Linked DNA regions of Homo sapiens: region 1 is linked to region 2. Evidence: promoter capture Hi-C in 16 types of primary human blood cells and fetal thymus (Javierre and others, 2016). All regions are on one chromosome and are shown on one strand. Each heading gives the region's core, a stretch centred on a gene start or on the middle of the fragment in contact. The rest is flanking DNA. Distances are from core to core; before and after follow the strand shown.

Region 1 (2,700 bases), core at 176-2,675, 33 kb before region 2:
GCCTCCCAAAGTGCTGGGATTACAGGTGTAAGCCACAGCGCCCAGGCCTTTTTTTTTTTTCTTTCTTTTTTTTTTTGAGACAGCGCCTCATGCTGTCACCCAGGCTGGGTGAAGTGGCATGATCTCGACTCACTGCAACCTCTGCCTCCCAGATTCAAGTGATTCTCCTGCCTCAGCCGGCACCCCTTGCTGCTGAGTAGCTGGGACTACAGGCTTGGGCCACCATAACCAGCTAATTTGTATTTTGTATTTTTAGTAGAGACAGCGTTTCACCTTGTTGGCCAGGCTGGTCTCAAAGTCCTGACCTCAAGTGATCCCCCGCCTTGGCCTCCCAAAGTGCTAGGATTACAGGTGTGAGCCACTGCGCCCGGCCCAGGCCACACCATTTTCATCCACCAATTCATACAACCTTGTTTTATGTACATTTGTTTAAAAACACCTTATTTAATATCTATGGTGGATTCATTTACATTGAACTCACAGCCAACAGCACCGAAACTCACGTCTGCATAAAGCTTCTCTATAATGGATTTTCTCCATGAGGTGCATCACAGACTTTTTTTTTTTTAAGTATTTTATTTTTGGCATGATCATAGCTCACTGCAGCCTTGACCTCCCGGGCTCAGGTGATCCTCCAATCTCAGCCTCCTGAGTAGCTGGGACTACAGGCTACACTGGGCTAATTTAAAATTTTTTTTGTACTGATGGGGGTCTCACTATATTGCCCAGGCTGGTCTTGAACTCCTGGCCTTGGGCAGTCCTCCTGCCTCGGCTCCCAATGTGCTGGGATTACAGGCATGAGCCGCCGAGCCCAGCCATTGCAGCCTTTTGGTACTTAGGAAGCCTGGACAGCATTTCGGTGTCTGGGGGAATTTCAATGGCAAAATCACCAACAAAAACCACAAGAACATGGCCAGGCACAGTGGCTCATGCTTGTAATCCCAGCACTTTGGGAGGCCGAGGTGGGTGGATCACCTGAGGTCAGGAGTTCGAGACCAGCCTGGCCAACATAGTGAAACCCCATCTCTACCAAAAATACAGAATTAGCCAGGCTTGGTGGCAGGTGCCTGTTATCCCAGCTACTTGGGACACTGAGGCAGCAGAATCGCTTGAACCCTGGTGGGTGGAGGTTGCAGTGAGCTGAGATTGTGCCACTGCACTCCAGGCTGTGCAACAAGAGTGAAACTCCATTTCAAAAAAAAAAAAAAAAAAAAGAGAAGAAATTCACCACCCTAAACTCACACCTTCCTTCTCCCATAAGTGCATGCCCATGGACGTGTACGATGGCTGCTATGCTGCTGTTTCTCCTCTGGGCTGTTGTAGTCTTGTGGTGGCCCACATTCTGCTGCAGTTGGAAACATCCCCAGATCTCTGTGGTTTAGAAAAGCTGGCCAGGCATGATGGCTGATACCTGTAATCCCAGCACTTTGGGAGGCCGAGGCAGGCAGATCACCTGAGGTCAGGAGTTCGAGACCAGCCTGGCCAACGTAGTGAAACCCTGTTTCTACTAAAAATATAAAAATTAGCTGCGTGTGGTGGCACACGCCTGTAATCCTAGCTGCTTGGGAGGCTGAGGCAGGAGAATCGCTTGAACCCGGGAGGTCAAGGTTGCAGTGAGCCAAGATTGCACCATTGCACTCCAGCTTTGGCAACAAGAGTGAAACTCCATCTCAAAAAGAAAAAGAAGAACTAAGGCTGTCATACTTGGAGTCTCACATCTGTAATCCCAGCACTTTTGGGGGCTGAGGCACGAGGATCGCTTGAGGCCAGGAGGTCGAGGCTGCAGTTTGCTATGATTGCGCCACTGCACTCCAGCCTGTGTGACAGAGTGAGACCCTGTCTCTAAATAAATAAATAAGTAAGGCAGGGCACGGTGTCTCACGCCTGTAATCCCAGCACTTTGGGAGGCCGAGGCGGACGGATCACCTGAGGTCGGGAGTTCAAGACCAGCCTGACCAACATGGAGAAACCCCCGTCTCTACTAAAAATGCAAAATTAGCGGGGCGTGGTGGCGCATGCCTGTAATCCCAGCTATTCAGGAGGCTGAGGCAGGAGAATCGCTTGAACCCAGGAGGCAGAGGTTGTGGTGAGCCAAGATCGCACCATTGCACTCCAGCCTTGGCAACAAGAGCGAAACTCTGTCTGCAAAAAAAAAAAAAAAAAAACAGCCTGGGTGCAGAGCAAAACCCTATCTCTAAGTAAATGAATAAATAAATAGCAAAGCTAAGGCTTATTTCTTAGCGGCAATAGACTTTGTTAGTTGTAGTGGTACAGAAACTGGCCTAATGGGAGGGTCATTTTCTCACAGTGAGGACGGTGTTGTCTAAAGAAACATCCAAGCTTTTAAATAATTAAAGTTGGCCAGCCATGGTGGCTCACGCCTGTAATGCCAGCACTATCGGAGGCTGAGGCGAGAGGATCACTTGAGCCCCCGGGAGTTTGAGACCAGCCTGGGCAACACAGCAAGGCCCTGTCTGTACAAATTAAAAATTAGCCGGGCATAGTGATACCTGCCTGTGTAGTCCCTGCTACTCGAGAGGCTGAGGTGGGAGGATCGCCTGAGTCTGGGAGGTGAAGGCTGCAGTGAGCTATGATTGCATAACTGCACTCCTGGCTGGGTGACAGAGCAAGACCCTGTCTCAAAAAAAAAGAAAAAAAAAATTTGGGACTGGGTGCAGCGGTGGCTCACACCTGTAATCC
Region 2 (2,700 bases), core at 113-2,612:
TGCGCCACCAGGCCTGGCTAATTTTTGTATTTTTAGTAGAGACAGGGTTTTGCCATATTGGTCAGGCTAGTCTCGAACTCCTGACCTCAGGTGATCTGCTCACCTTGGCCTCCCAAAGTGCTAGATTTACAGGTGTGAGCCACCGTACCTGGCCTTACTTTTTTAAGAGACAGGGTCTACCTGTATTGCCCTGGCTGGAGTGCAGTGGTGCGATCATAGCTCACTGCAGCCTCAAACTCTAGGCTCCAGTTATCCTCTTACCATAGCCTCCCAGGTGGCTAGGACTACAGGCATGAGCCACCGTGCCCAGCTAGGGGTCTCTCTTTAAAGCCACTTTTTCGGGGAAGCATCCTCTGACCCCGGAACCTCACCAAGGTTTCCCTCATTGTATTTCCACTTTGTGGCCTAGCTTTGTCCTCTGAGCACTACTGCAATTCGCTATTATATATTTGTTTTTTGATTTTTTAGACAGAGTCTCCCTCTGTCACCCAGGCTGGAGGGCAGTGGCACGATCTTACCTCACTGCAGCATCTGCCTCCCAGTTTCAAACGATTCTCCTGCCTCAGCCTCCCAAGCAGCTGGGATTACAGGCGCCCACCACCACGCCTGGATAATTTTTGTATTTTTAGTAGAGACAGGGTTTCACTATGTTGACCAGGCTTGTCTCAAACTCCCGACCTCAGGTGATCTGCCCACCTCGGCCTGCCAAAGTCCTGGGATTACAGGGTTAAGCCACCATGCCCGGCCTTGCTATTACATAGTTGATTCTGTCTTTTGCATCTGTTCCTCTCACTCGGCTCTAAGCTCCCTGGGGTGGCATGGAAGCCAGCATGTGGAAGTGGGCACCCCTGTCTGTACCCCCTAGTTCCCAGTATATGGACTGGCACACAGGGGCTGCTCATTCACTCTAGTTAGAATGGATGCTTCACTTTCAGCGAACATGCCCCCTCCTCCAGGAAGCCCTCCCTGCCCCTCCTCACCTCCTCAGATCATCCTCAAAGGGCAGGAAAAGCCATTTCTTTGGCATGTCCTTGAGGAACAGGTCCTGCTGCTCCTCCGTGGAGTCCTGGGACACGTACACCAGGGCCAGCTGAGCCGCCCGCAGTACATAGAACTCATCTGTGAGCCGCACGAAGAAGTCCTTGAGGATGGGCACGAAGGCCTGGCACTGTGGACAAGCCCCAGCACCAAAGAACAGCAGCACCAGCCGGTTCTCCAGCCTGCGACTGACCTCAGCCTCCGTATCCAGCTCGTCCTGGTCGCTATTGTTGCGGATCAGGATGCGGCCAGAGAACAGGGAGGCCATGGTAACCTGGGTTGGGTGCTGGGGACAGCGCGGCGTGTGGTCCCCGGTCTGCTGACTGGCTCCTCTCCCAGAAATAGAAATCTTTAGAAAACCAGCTTAGGACTTCACTAATCTGCCTAAACCTTGACCTGAGGGGCCTCTAAGGGCGGGGGGCAGGGCTCTCTGTGTGGCCCTTCTCAGGAGAGAGCCGCAAACGCATTAAGAAAACACGTAACAGATGGGCACGGTGGCTCACGCCTGTGATCCCAGCACTTTGAGAGGCAGAGGTGGGAGGATCATCTGAGGTCAGGAGTTTGAGACCAGCCTGGCCAACATGGTGAAACCCTGTCTGTACTAAAAAATAAAAAAATTAGCCAGGCGTGGTGGTGGGCACCTGTAATCCCAGCTACTTGGGCAGCCGAGGCAGGAGAATCGCTTGAAGCCAGGAGGCGGAGGTTGCAGTGAGCTGAGATTGTGCCACTGCACTCCAGCCTGGGCGACAGAGCGAGACTCCATCTCAGAAAAAAAAAGAAAGAAAGAAAGAAAAAAAACCAAAAAACCATGTAGCAGACAGTGACTCACGCCTGTAATCTCAGCACTTTGGGAGGCTGAGGCAGGAGGATCACCTGAGACCAGGAGTTTGAGAGCAGCTTGGGCAACAGTGTGAGACCCCATCTCTATGAAAAAATTAAAAACTTAGCTGGGCATGGTGTTGTCATGAGCCTGTAGTCCCAGCTACTCAGCTGAGATGGAAGGATCACTTGAGCCTGGGAGGTTGAGGCTACAATGACTGCACTACTGCACTCCATCCTGGGTGACAGAGCAAGACCTAGTGTCTAAAAATAAAAAATAGGCTGGGCACGGTGGCTCACGCCTGTAATCCCAAAGCTTTGGGAGGTCAAGGTGGGTGGATCACCTGAAGTCAGGAGTTCGAGACCAGTCTGGCCAACATGGAGAAACCCCATCTCTACTAAAAATGCAAAAATTGGCCAGGTGTGGTGGCTCACGCCTGTAATCCCAGCACTTTGGGAGGCTGAGGCAGGTGGATCACAAGGTCAGGAGATCGAGACCATCCTGACTAACACAGTGAAACCCCGTCTCTACTAAAAGTACAAAAAAAATTAGCCGGGTGTGGTGGCGGGCACCTGTAGTCCCAGCTACTCGGGAGGCTGAGGCAGGAGAATGGCGTGAACCCGGGAGGTGGAGCTTGCAGTGAGCCGAGACCGCGCCACTGCACTCCAGCCTGGGTGACAGAGTGAGATTCCGTCTCAAAAAAAAAAAAAAAGCAAAAATTAGACCGGGTGTGGTGGCTCATGCCTGTAATCCCAGCGCTTTGGGAGGCTGAGGCAGGCGGATCACCTGAGGTCAGGAGTTCGAAACCAGCCTGGCCAACATGGTGAAACCCCATCTCTACT

The links. The method cuts DNA at HindIII sites, captures the fragments that hold promoters and counts their contacts. A CHiCAGO score of 5 or more calls a contact.
Region 1: a fragment that was not itself captured here is called in contact with the fragment with the promoter of NXNL1 in region 2 in 1 of 17 cell types (endothelial precursors); the score reaches 5.4 in endothelial precursors.

The regions. Positions count from the first base shown.
Region 1 is chr19:17,426,315-17,429,014 of GRCh38, forward strand. No RefSeq gene overlaps it. Among named protein-coding and RNA genes, the nearest start is that of MVB12A, 7.6 kb to the left of the region's middle. The HindIII fragment of the contact is 1,825 bases long and covers 514-2,338 here.
Region 2 is chr19:17,459,564-17,462,263 of GRCh38, forward strand. It overlaps NXNL1 (nucleoredoxin like 1), which reads right to left and starts at 1,363. Exons shown (of 2, transcript NM_138454.2): 1 at 981-1,363. The coding sequence starts at 1,306. RefSeq lists an enhancer at 1,269-1,769. The HindIII fragment of the contact is 2,658 bases long and covers 1-2,171 here.